Regions from separate parts of the Homo sapiens genome. Here all the other regions are linked to region 1. Evidence: promoter capture Hi-C in 16 types of primary human blood cells and fetal thymus (Javierre and others, 2016). All regions are on one chromosome and are shown on one strand. The core of a region is centred on a gene start or on the middle of the fragment in contact, and the rest is flanking DNA. Distances in the headings are between cores, read along the strand shown. Region 1 holds the start of RNF111 (ring finger protein 111). Region 2 overlaps FAM81A (family with sequence similarity 81 member A). Region 3 overlaps FAM81A (family with sequence similarity 81 member A). Region 4 holds the start of FAM81A (family with sequence similarity 81 member A). Region 5 has its middle 21 kb from the start of FAM81A.

What was found. Contacts are between HindIII fragments. The CHiCAGO score rates a contact against its expected background, and 5 or more counts as called.
Region 2: a contact is called between a fragment that was not itself captured here and the fragment with the promoter of RNF111 in region 1, in 13 of 17 cell types (total CD8 T cells, naive CD8 T cells, naive CD4 T cells and 10 more). The highest score is 14.6, in total CD8 T cells.
Region 3: a contact is called between a fragment that was not itself captured here and the fragment with the promoter of RNF111 in region 1, in 3 of 17 cell types (M2 macrophages, endothelial precursors and naive B cells). The highest score is 6.9, in M2 macrophages.
Region 4: a fragment that was not itself captured here is called in contact with the fragment with the promoter of RNF111 in region 1 in 4 of 17 cell types (endothelial precursors, total B cells, naive CD4 T cells and 1 more); the score reaches 6.8 in endothelial precursors.
Region 5: a fragment that was not itself captured here is called in contact with the fragment with the promoter of RNF111 in region 1 in 3 of 17 cell types (M2 macrophages, naive B cells and total B cells); the score reaches 7.0 in M2 macrophages.

What each region holds. Positions count from the first base shown.
Region 1 is chr15:58,986,406-58,988,926 of GRCh38, reverse strand. RNF111 (ring finger protein 111) reads right to left here and starts at 1,264. Exons shown (of 14, transcript NM_017610.8): 1 at 859-1,264. RefSeq lists a silencer at 381-545. The HindIII fragment of the contact is 2,845 bases long and covers 113-2,521 here.
Region 2 is chr15:59,476,739-59,479,259 of GRCh38, reverse strand. The region is part of intron 3 of FAM81A (family with sequence similarity 81 member A); the gene reads right to left. Among named protein-coding and RNA genes, the nearest start is that of FAM81A, 40 kb to the right of the region's middle. The HindIII fragment of the contact is 190 bases long and covers 1,172-1,361 here.
Region 3 is chr15:59,457,103-59,459,623 of GRCh38, reverse strand. FAM81A (family with sequence similarity 81 member A) reads right to left here. Exons shown (of 9, transcript NM_152450.3): 2 at 978-1,074. The coding sequence starts at 997. Among named protein-coding and RNA genes, the nearest start is that of FAM81A, 20 kb to the right of the region's middle. The HindIII fragment of the contact is 240 bases long and covers 1,138-1,377 here.
Region 4 is chr15:59,437,969-59,440,489 of GRCh38, reverse strand. It overlaps FAM81A (family with sequence similarity 81 member A), which reads right to left and starts at 2,304. Exons shown (of 9, transcript NM_152450.3): 1 at 2,208-2,304. RefSeq lists a silencer at 2,077-2,521. The HindIII fragment of the contact is 883 bases long and covers 822-1,704 here.
Region 5 is chr15:59,415,607-59,418,127 of GRCh38, reverse strand. It overlaps a transcript of FAM81A not described here. Among named protein-coding and RNA genes, the nearest start is that of FAM81A, 21 kb to the left of the region's middle. The HindIII fragment of the contact is 1,100 bases long and covers 714-1,813 here.

The sequences.
Region 1 (2,521 bases), core at 15-2,514:
ACATTCAAAAGCTACAGGAAATCCTACAAAACGTAGTCTATGTCAGCTGGCATCTTACCATTCAAGAGAATTCTAAATTAATGCCGCACATAAATCAAGAAACAGGAAAGCTTACAACAACACAATGGAGTCACCCCACAACACACACACGAACAAATTAAATGAATACCTCATACTTTCTGGTATTTTTTGAATAATCAAAACTTAGGTTGAGAAATACCCATCTGTAAAGATCTATCTACTATAACCTATTTAAGAACTGTTGTAACAAATCTATTTCTGCTGCACTGAACAGATATTCCCACTATAGCACTGACACTGACTCTGATAAATTATCGAAGGACAATAGTAAAAACATCAGTTTCTTTTTAAATGACCAACAAGCCAACTCCATACAAAATCTGACGCGTCTGTATTTCAGCTGTTCCGCGGACTACGTTTCCTTGATCACAGCAGCAGCAGGCGACTCCCTAGCCGTCAGGGCTGACTTAGCGCCCTCCAACTCCCCGGGTCCGGGTTACCTTCATCACTCCATTGTCAAATCGCACTCCCACGCCTCGGTCCTCAGCCCCCATCCTGAGACTCTAGGGAGAGTCGGAAGTGGGAGAGAAATCCCCTCACCCACACTCCCTCACTGTAGGCTGTGGGTGTGTCGGTAGACGAATGCCTTGCCCAAACACAAATCGTCTGCGGAGACCCAGACCCTAAGTCACCACCGAGCCAGAGATAACCGGCCGGTCACCGACCCCAGCCTTCCGCGGCCGCAGCCCTTCCTCTTTCTCCCCTCCAGGCCGGCCCCTCCCCCGTTGCGCGCACGCGCGGCCTCCAATGGATCCCCTCCCCCCCCGTTCCCCTCACCTTAATCATTAGCCACCCTCTTCTCTTCCAGGGTCCGGGAATCACTGACCCAGGAAGGAAGACAGAAATGTAAGGCGTAAAGAGTAATGCGTCGAGAGCCAGCGATCTGCGCCTCAGACGTCGGCCTAATAGGCCCCTAGAGTCAAGAACAGTGTCTGTCACCGCCACCAAAACTGTACGTGCGGCAGCGCCTGGACTCGGCCCAGCTAAGCCGGCGTGGGTTCAGAATGCCTAATTTGGTCCCACAAGAACTCCTTCTCTGAAGCTGCGGGCGTTTCTACGCTGCGCAAACCGAACACCTCCTCGCCGTCGCCGCCACTGCCGCTGCTCCCCTACAGCCGCCGCCGCCGCTTCGCCGCCGCCGCCGCCTAACCAATTCCTCCCCTACCGAGGAGAGCACGACACTAGGGCTCTTTACGACAGTTCGGAAAGTGAGAGCGCAGTAGCCTTCACGCCTCCATTAACATCTGTTTGTTTCTGCGCTTGCTCGATTCCCGTTTCTCACCGTCCCGCCCCCTCGGTCCCGGCCCTCCCCCTTTGTACTGGTTTTATCAGTCTGTTGGCGAACTGAAAGGTGTCACAAAGCTCATTATTTAATTTTCTTTGGTGATTATGCGTTCAACATTTAAGCCAAATCTTGACTACATCTTGGTTCATTTTTTCGTAACTAAAAATTAACCAACTACAGAATTGATACATTTACAGATATACGTAAACAAAAACATCATGGGTTAGTGTCTTTCACAACAAATGATACCCATATCATATGCGCTAATGACATAAAGATCACGGCACCTCACTGTTAAAGTGAATTTGCTTCCGGAATCAGATCAAAAGTGGTCACATATCTCCTGCGAACTCGGGCTGTACAATCGCATAAGCCTCCTTGTTTATTTTATAAAAGTCAGTAGATAACAAATGCGTCATTATATGCATTAGGAGGATAGAGAGAGGATGAGCTTCAGAGTCCATCAGGCAGACTTCCTTTCAAAGTCCAGTGGTGCCACTTAAGAGTTCTCTGATTGATGAGATCCTTATAAATCTTAGTTTCCTCCTCTATAAATTGGGATAACGTATTTACCTCAAAAGGTTCTTGTTAGATTAAATGAGACAATTTATATAATGCTCTGAACATTACTTGCCAATTAAGTGTTCACTAAACATTAATTCCCTCCCTTTGCCATCAACTCATCTTTTTCAATACTTTTTTTGTTCACTCATATTTTCCGTATCATTCAGTAAGCAAATGATTTTGGCCGGGCACGGTGGCTCACGCCTGTAATCCCAGCACTTTGGGAGGCCTAGGCGGGTGGACTACCTGAGATCAGGAGTTCAAGACCAGCCTGGCCAACATGGTGAAACTCCTTCTCCACTAAAAATACAAAAACTAGCTGGGCGTGGTGGCGGACGCCTGTAATCCCAGCTACTCGGCAGGCTGAGGCAGGAGAATCGCTTGAGCCAGGGTGGCCGAGGTTGCAGTGAGCCATGATCAAGCCATTGCACCCCAGCCCGGGTGACAGGGAGACTCCGTCTCCAAGAAAAAAAAAAAAAAGGCTGGGCGCGGTGGCTCACGCCTGTAATCCCAGCACTTTTGGAGGCCAAGGCGGGCGGATCATGAGGTCAGGAGATGGAGACCATCCTGGCTAACACGGTGAAACGCTGT
Region 2 (2,521 bases), core at 17-2,516, 490 kb before region 1:
GATTACAGGCATGAGCCACCGCGCCCGGCCACCATCCTTTCTAAGACAGCCACACAGTCACTCTCCATCACATCCTCTCATCAGAGCACTTGACATCAGCTAACATCACCTTGGTTACTTAGCATTGACTGCCTGTACACCCCACTAAAGTGTGCAGCAGGGCGAAGATCAGAGGCCTGTGTGCTTGGGCCATTACTGCAGCTCCAGTGCCTCTAACAATGCCTGGCTGTTAGTGGGTTAGTGGATTAGTGAGTGATTTATCAATTAATTTAGCTCCATGTTCTAGGATCTGGTCTTCTGAGTTGAAGGCTTAGAGACTATCTCTAGCTGTCCATCCTGTCTTTGGTTTAAGCTGTTATCAATCCCTTTGATTTGAGCTGTTATCAATCTCTGGTTCCCAGACATGATCAGGTCCTCAAAGAGGACTCAGACAAGCTAAAATGTACTGGAGACAGAGCAGACACCAGAACACTAATTTATTCATTTACATTGAAAAACCTCTGTCAACAGAACTGAATAAATATTCGAATTCCATTCAATTTACTGTCTTCTCCCCCGAAGTCAAGGCATACAACACGCCACATCTAGTGGGTAGAATGAAAACAAAATGAATTTGGATGATAATCACCAAAACCCCTCCGCTGATATACCTGTTTCAATAGAACCAGATCACAGAGCTGCAGGCTGAAATTCCCTTTTTCAGTAAAATGCATGAAGTCCAGTAGCCAAAACTCTTTCCTCATTGGCAGTACTGGAAGCACACTGAACCAAGGTCCTGTATGTTAGTCCGACTACATGTTAACATCACTGTCTACGCCCCTGCTTTCCCATGTTAGTAAAGCCCAATGCTGCACTCATCGCTCAAGTTCAAAAACTCCAGTAGTCCTTTTGCAAATTATTAAACTAGCAAACTACGTATGATATATTCAATTAGATGAGGGCTTGATACAGTTTCCCATAACCCAACTAGGTTAAAGCCAACATTCCAAGCCAGAAGGACATCATGAAGTTGAGCACATGGGAACTAAAGTAGGTCCGCAGATTCTAACCAGCCAGGTGGCAGACCCCACTGCATGGTTCCCAAAGGCCAGAGACACAGCTAAAGCCATAAAAAGACATGGGGGTCCAAACTACTACCCCCAGCCATCAAACTGGCATGGAAAGGAAAGCTTACCACCAATAAAAGGACCACGGACTGCTCACCAGGGCTCGGCTTCCAGGGACCGATAACGGCTTAAACCAAAGACAGTATGGATAACCCAGACATGTATAATTCATAGTTGACTATATTACTTCCTCTAAATTTATAATGATGATGATCATTGGTGGAAAGTTTCTGAGGAATAAATAATTGATAAGCTTCTCCATATCACAAGGCAAACCGCTAACAGACACTGTGGATGGAGATGTATTAAAACAATAAATTCTTCCATTCAACATTTATCAAGCACTTACTGTGTATTAGTATACAAGAGTCATCTGTTTTGACACTGGTATCTGCTGAAAGAATATAAGCAATAATTATAGGGTTCTGGAAGGGGCAAGGAGACCCAGAGCTCTTGATTATGAAACATTTATTGAGCTCCTACTATGTCTTAGACATTGGTAGGTGTTGAAAATAGAAATATTAAGACTCTGTTCTAGCTCTTGAGGATCACATAGGGTAATGGTTTGAAAACATATTTTACTTTTTTTCCAGTGTATAACTGTTCAGAGTCACATGACAGAAAATCATAAAGACTTATCTAGGCAAATTTGCCAAGATACAGTGTTAATATATCTCGATTTGACTAGTTCTATCAGGGTCTAGCAGTAAGTTTCACATCTTAAGAATGGCTTCAGCTTTACTTTTGTAATATAAAATCACCTGCAGGGATGATTCTCAAAAATCAAATAACCCAGTAAAATTTTACTGCGTGAACTGAAAAACAGCTATAAACCAGCAATAATAATAATAATAAAAACTCAGGCAATTTACAGAAGATATTCTTCAAGAATCTATAAATAAAAAATACACCTTTTACATCATTGAAATACAATTTAAATATCTTCACACCTCTGTTTTAAAACTGATACTACAAGTATGAGGTTATTTTGTTCTTTGTTTTGTTTTCTGTTTGTTTTTGCTTTTTTTTTTTTTGAGTCAGAGTCTCACTCTGTTGCCCAGGCTGGAGGGCAGTGGCACGATCTCGGCTGACTGTAACCTCCGCCTCCTGGGTTCAAGTGATTCTCCTGCCTCAGCCTCCCAAGTAGCTGGGGTTACAGGCACCTGCCACCACACCCAGCTAATTTTTGTATTTTTAGTAGAGATGGGGTTTCACCATGTTGGCCAGGCTGGTCTTGAACTCCTGATCTCATGATCTGCCCACCTTGGTCTCCCAAAGTGCTGGGATTACAGGTGTGAGCCACCACGCCCGGCCAAGTATCAGTTTTATATTATGCCCACTCTCCCAATTTATTTATTTATTTAGAGATGGAGTCTTGCTCTGTCAGCCAGGCTGGAGTGCAGTGGCATGATCCT
Region 3 (2,521 bases), core at 8-2,507, 470 kb before region 1:
AAGTCTCCTAACATGCTCTCCTCCTCCTCCCTCTCTGAAACAGTGGTTACAAACTCAATGCCTACGTGGGTCAGGCAGGCGACATAAATGAGTGAAGCATACTACATATGAGGCAATAGGGAGTGTCAGGGATTTAGAGATCTGGAAAGGGCATTTCCCAGCTAAAGGGAGCCACAGTTCTGCTCCACCCATGAGTGACCATCAGGGATTTCAGGTCCCTTTTTCCAGATGATCTGATATTTCTCAAGAAAAGCTAGCAAATCCCGACTTGTATGTGAAATCGCTTGATTTTAAAATGTTAACGATTCATTTAAAAAGTATTTAAGGCCAGCACAGTGGCTCACACCTGTAATCCCAACACTTTGGGTGGCTGAGGTGGGAGGACTGCTTGAGCCCAGGAGTTTAAGATCAGCCTGGGCAACACAACGAGACCCTATCTCTACAAAAAAAATTATTTAAAAATTAGCTGGGCATGGTGGCACATAACTATAGTCCCAGCTACTCAGGAGGCTAGGTGGGAGATCACCTAAGCCCAGGAGGTCAAGGCTGCAGTGAGCTGTGACTGTGCCACTGCACTCTAGCCTGGGGAACAGAGTGAGACCCTGTCTCCAAAAAAAGTATTTAAGAACATGCTAGGCCAAGCAATGTACTTCATGAGCCAATTTTGGCCGATAGGCCCCTAATCTGCAACTTCTGATTTAAAAAGCTTAACAGGGATGTTAGCCTGAAGCCCCCGGAGTTATATTTCACTCTCAACAGGAAATTCAAGTCTACTGTAGGACTACTGTGAAATCTCTACTTCTTGGGGTCACTGAGTGGTCCACAGTATCCTATAAATTGAAAGCTAGAGGACACAATAGTGTTTCTCTTGCCCTTGAACAAAACCATTCTCCGATAATGTAACAGCCCAAGCTTTGATTTGTAACTATCACACCCACTAGCAGCCCCCATGGGATGAGTGGAAAGGAAAAGTATACCTTAGATGCATATTTTCCATATATTATACCTTTCCTTGGTGACACGAGAAGGAAATACAGTGCTCCGTTGGGCCATTTTCTTTTTAATAATTCACATCTGTTGAAAAAATAAGCACTAAATTATTTAACAGTTTATATCTAGAACTTAACCTCAAAAGCTTATTATTAAGTTGCTAAGTGGATCATAAATTATGTTGAAACACTGATAAGTTATATTATTAAATGTTTTGTATCTTATACATGAAATAAACAGCATATGTTTCCAAATAAGAAGAAAAGCAATCAAGCAAAATCAAAGCTCTTCTGAAATTAATATTGCTAAGCCTTGCAAGACAGACCAACAGGGACTGTACAATGGAGTTTCCTGAAGTTTCCTCACTCCAAATCTGCATCTCAAGCTTGAGAAACCACTTTTAACAGAAACTAGAGTGTTTAATAGGCTTATCCAATCTTATACTTCTCTGTAGAATTTTGCAGGAAACTACCTCAGTAAATTTGATCTCAGAAAACTTTTACTACTAATTCCATGGTAAATGAAGAGCACTTATTTCTAAATTAATCTCAAATAAAACAGCACATGATCAATGTGATCTGATTTGTGGGAAGATATCTATCCACCAAGGGAGTGAGAAAGATATTCCTCATTAGAACTTGAAAACTTTATAATAAGATACAATCATTCATATTTCATCTTGCATATAAGGAACATTTGGTCCCCACAACTCATTAGAAATGTGAAAAACACTAGAGGATGTTTAAAATACTTTATTATTTAGGTTCCTCAATACTGCTATCAATTGCCTTAAAATAATGAATGCCTACTAACTATGATCTGATTCCATAATTAATTCTCATTTAGATGCTGGATTCAGAAAGCATTTCTGATTGAAATCACTGTTTTGGCGTCATCTCTCTAGTGTTTTATTTTTGGAGTTTCAAAATGTGCACATTTCATTTTCTTAGACAAAGAACTTTAAACAAATTACATTTAAGGAAAAAAAAGTCATTCATGCCAAACAAGCTATGGTGCCCAAAGAGTTCTTCAGTGTCAAAGAGAAGCATTTCTGCCATATAGACTACAGTAGCCCTCCCTCATCTGTCAGGGGTACATTCCAAGACCCCCAGTGGATGCCTGAAACCGAAGCCTATATATACTATTCTTTTCTACACATACATACTCATGATTAAGTTTAATTCATAAATTAGGCACAGTGCTCTTGCACTTTGGGGCTATTATGAAGTAAAATAAGGGTTACTTGGTCACAAGCACTGCAATACCCCAACAGTCAATCTGATAACAGAGATGGCTATTAAGTGACTCACAGGGCCAGGTATACATGGTGTGGATATGCTGGACAAGAGGATGATTCCCGTTCTGGGCAGGAGGGAGCAGGATCGCACAAGATTTCATCACACTATTTCAGAACAACACACAATTTAAAACTTATGAATTGTTTATTTCTAGAATTTTTTATTTAATATTTTTGACCATGGTTGACCTTGGATAATGTGGAAAGTGAAACCATCGATAAGGGGGGACTACC
Region 4 (2,521 bases), core at 14-2,513, 450 kb before region 1:
CAAAGCAGAGAAGAGAATGAAGCTGGCTGCTCACGTTTTTTGTTTGTTTATCCCTTTTTTGGGGCATCAAGTGAAGAGATCCCCACTGTACCTGGGTGTACATCAGAATTGCCCAGAGAGTTCTGTTCCTTCTCTTCATCGTCTCCTGCTGCTCCTCCTTTTGGGGTTTGTTTTTAAAGTAGGGATTTTTAGGTCTTACTCCCCCACCCTGCCCCAGCCCCCAATGATTCTAATTTGGTATATCTGAGAGAGTCTAAAGACCAAGTTTTTCAAAATGTCCCAGGTGATTCTGAGGAGCCCCCAGGTTTGGGAAGCACTGGACCAGAAGATAAGAAGGAGGGTAGGGGCACAAGCAGATAGCACTACCTTCCGAGAGGAGACTTGGTTGGTGATGGTGCATTGGTTTGGAGGCAGCACTAAGGAGAAGCGGAAGAGCATCCCTACTCTGGTGAGACGGTGGAGGACACTAGAGAAGGCTCTTCTGCGGCAAGTTGTTCACTCAGGCTCTGGTGCTCGGGAGAGAAGGTGGGTTCAGCTACATAAAAAATGAAAATGCAAGAGTGTGGCTGCAGGATACAAGAAACAAGACATTTAAAGCCAGGTCGGAGTGACACAGCCTAGTGGCCTGCAGAGAGAGGAGGCTGAATAATGCGCTAATAACGTTTCCAAGCACCATGTAGTGTGGCTCATTAAATGGTTGGTAGGGCTTCATGGTTGAATTCCTGGACACTAAGTATTTTTCTATCCGTATGCTATCAGATTTCTAACATGTAACACATTAAAGGTTATTAAGCCCTCAGGTAAACAAGCTTGCAGAAGCTTATTCATTAGCATTGGAAACTGTGTCTTCCCAACCCACGTTCTTATACAGATGAAATCAGATTCGAATGAAAATCAAGGGTAGCTTTAAGTAGAAAGTCAGAAGGGGCAACCAGGGGTACCTGTGAGAGGGTACGTCCTCCATTCCCCTCCGTGGAAGAGGGAAGTTTATAGACAGTGGATATGGAAGGGGGCCTAAGTGTCCTTTTTAGTACCAGTCAACGCTAAAAATATTATAAGTGCCAAGGAACCCGCCCCCCCCAACACACACACACACACATACACACACGCGCATTCAGTGACAGGGCCCAGAAGGCAGATACAATGTGCAAATCTGGGGATGGTTCTCAATAAAGAATATATTTACTCTACAAACCTCTTATTTTAAAAGCAAGTTGCAAATGTTTGCCCTTGCTTCTGAGAGAGCTGCACTTTTGTGGATTCGAATCATTCTAGCATTATTTCTGGTTACTCCTATGAAATAATTTCCAACACTGCCGTACGCAGACTTTGAGCTGAGGACGAGAGCGCACGCGCACACACGCACACACACACACGCGCGCACACACACACATAAACCTCGTGCACATTGAAGAAATGACTCACTTAATTTGCTGCTGCCTGCCACGATTGGGTTTTGATTTTACCTGTTCAAATACAAAGTTTCCTATTAGATTAACTACAGGAAAGAAGAACTTAGGAGCATTAATCCTGATTTTGTTCATGTCTTTAGGGCACCAAAGAGGTTTTAACCTGTGCATCTTAAGAAGCCATTCTCCGGACCACCGACTGCTTGCTCCATAATCTTCCAGACAACGATAACATTTCTTACCACTTTAGGAGCCAATTAATGGAAACCCCTCCTAGAATAAACATGGTTAAGCTTTGCATCTCCGGTACCTGCAGAACCGTACTTTAGGGCTCTTTCTCAGCTCGCAGTAGGATGGCACAACAGCATTCTGGAACTGCAAAGACCCCCTAGCCTCTCGTTTGAAAGATGAGAAAAAGCGAAGGGGCGGAAGAGCAGATGGTTAACCTACCCAAGGTCACTCACTCTGAGTAGTGGGTCGGCTGACTCGCCTTTACCCCTGGCAATCCGTGCACCACCCCAGCTCCCCCAAACAGTCCCTCCGGGCGTCGGTTGGTTCGCTAGCATGCAGCCCCCGCGAAAATGCAACGCCAGTTGCGCTCTGTGCCCAACTTCAGCCCTTCGCGTCACATGCAGTTAACCCTCTCGCCCGCGGCATGTCACATGGGCCACGCGCAGCTCTCTCTACCCCACGCCTATCTCCTGAGAGGCTGCCCCAAGGTCACCGGCCGTCCCAGAGAGCTCCCGCCGCCCAGCCCCAGAGGCCGCCCGGCCGGGGTTCCCAGAGCGCGGCACTCACCGGCGCGGGGGGTGGGCGCGCCGCGGCTGCCCATGTCCTCGCCGGCGCGGCTGGGTGCGGCGGCCGCTGGCGCTGGCTGAGCAGGGCGCCCGGCTGCGGGCCCGCGCCGCGGGGAGCGCCGTCCAATCAGCGCGCGCCTGCCGCCTGGCCCGGCGCGCGGCCCGGCCGGGTTCGCGGCTCCCGGGGGGCGCGAGCCGCCGCGCGCCGCCGGAGCCGCTTCCGGGCGCGTTGCCTGGACGCGGTTGCCGTGGCAGCCCGAGCTGGAGGCTTTCCCCGCGCACCCGCGCCCAGCCTGGCGGCGCCGCCCCTCCTCC
Region 5 (2,521 bases), core at 14-2,513, 430 kb before region 1:
ATAAAAAATCCTATTTTAAAAGGATGAGTTCATATCCTTTGTAGGGATATGGATGAAACTGGAAACCATCATTCTCAGCAAACTATCACAAGGACAGAAAACCAAACACCACTTGTTCTCACTCACAGGTGGGGAATGAACAATGAGAACACTTGGACACAGGAAGGGGAACATCACACACCGGGGCCTGTCGTGGGTTGTGGGGAGGGAGGAGGGATAGCATTAGGAGATAAACCTAATGTAAATGACGAGTTAATGGGTGCAGCACACCAACAGGGCACATGTATACATATGTAACAAACCTGCATGTTGTGCACATGTACCCTAGAACTTTAAAGTATAATAAAAAAAATAAAAGGGATAATCAAGCAAAAAAAATCTTTTTATTTTTATTTATTTATGTATTTATTTTGGAGACAGAGTCTCACTCTGTTGCCCAGGCTGGAGTGTAGTGGCATGATCTGGGCTCACTGAAACCTCTGCCTCCCAGGTTCATGCAATTCTCCTGCCTCAGCTTCCTGAGTAGCTGGGATTACAGGCGTGCACCATTATGCCTGGCTAATTTTTTTTTTTTTTGTATTTTTAGTAGAGACGGGGTTTCACCATGTTGGCCAGGCTGGTCTCGAACTCCTGACCTCAAGTGACCTGTCCACCACGGCCTCCCAAAGTGCTGGGATTACAGGTGTGAGCCAACACATCCAGCCAGAAAAGCTTGTTTTTTTGTTTGTTTGTTTGTTTGTTTGTTTTTAAATAGCTACTTTGATCATAAAGTAAGTTGAACATTTAGAGGTTGGGGAGGCAACATTAAGAAAACGAAGTAAATATAAAAGGGGAGGCGACAGGGTGGTACGGCATGTGACCACTAACTCAGCATCCTCAGGCTCCGAGAGGGACAGAATCAGAATGTGGAGAGCACAGCCTGGGTATTCAGCACGCATCCATCTGGACCTTCAGCAAGCTGAACTCACTTTCTATCTATAGCATCCCTCATTTTGTTTTTCTTTTAAAAATGTATTTCCCAGGATTCTTTCAGGGCAACCACAGAAGTGTCTTAGCTCCTTCCCCATGTCTCCCCCTACCCCAGCCCCCATCATCCTCTTCAGTGATTCTGGGCATAGCACCAGATGCAGACACGACGGCACAAGTCTAGGATGGGGACTCTTTGGCTGCTTACTCGCAGAAAGAACTTTGAAAAACTATGCACCTTCCTGTATATTTTTAGGTTGGCATCTAAAATTTGTCACCATAAGTTCAAATAGTTGCACAAAATGTAATTTCCAGCATAATGATATTTGAAAATAGAATGGTTCCAGCACCCTTTGGAATGATTCCAGTGACCGCTAAGCATGACAGGTATGGGATACCTGCTTCATAGGGTCATTATGCAGACTCAAGGGCTGAATAGAGGCACAGTGCCCGGCACATGATAAATACTTTATCTTTGTCGTATGTGTGGGTGTATAGAGAGAGAGGGAAAGAGACGGCAAGATGTTAGCAGTAAATCTTAGGAGGGATTGTAGCAGATGATGTTGATGCCCCACCCCACATCCCTTCAGCTCCTGTTTGAGTTCACTCACAGCTGTGGTTCACAGTTTCTGCCATGGGAAGACTTGACACCTCAAATGACGCATCTCACGGCTTCTCTGCCAGAGGGCTTTCTCCAGCACAGAGAAGCGTGCAATACTACTGGTTAGGCACAACCTGGAAACTGAGGCAGCTGACTTTCTCAGGGTTGACTCTTAACCAAAGGGGAGAGGAGGCAGTGGACAAAAGCCCCCGTCTCTCCATCCTTTGGCGAGACAAATGGGAAGCTTATCGTGCATGGTTTCCCAGAAGGTCCCCAGGACGGAGCCCCGGTTGCACACAGCGGTGACCACCACAGGAATGCACATATTATTACTGTGTTTTCCTTTCCTGTCCCATGTCCTGCACCCTTTCACTTGTGCTTTCTGGGATCACCTCCCAAATAAATGTCCTGTACCCAAGTTCTCTCAGGATCTCCTTTGAGGGAAACCCAACCAAGTCCAGGAGATATGGGGATTCATTATAGTGCTCTTTCCATTTTTCTGTGGTTTGAAACTTTCCAAAGTAAACATATAAACAGATTTGTTTAAATGTTTTAGAAGAGCAGCCCTACAGTATGTTCAGGGATTGTACCTGGCTGTGTGCTCCAGAACCCAGTCTGTGACCCTCCCAGAGATTCTGTAAACTACTGAGTATCCCTTAATCAGTTCATTTCTGCTTAACAACAAATCATTGATATTGAATGGTTTTAGTAGCAAGAGGTATAGGAGAGTGGTTCTGAATGTGGAATCCTTCCATCACTCAAGAGCAGCTAACTCCTCTCAGCCTCTGTATTATTCTTTTTGCTGTCATTAAATAAAAAATCATGAACTTAGTGGCTTAAAGCAGCACAAACTTATTATCTTACGGTTCTGCAGGTCAGGGGTCTAAGATAGGCCTCACTGGGCTAAAATCAAAATGTATGTAGAGCTGCATTCTTTTTAGAGGCTCTAGAAAA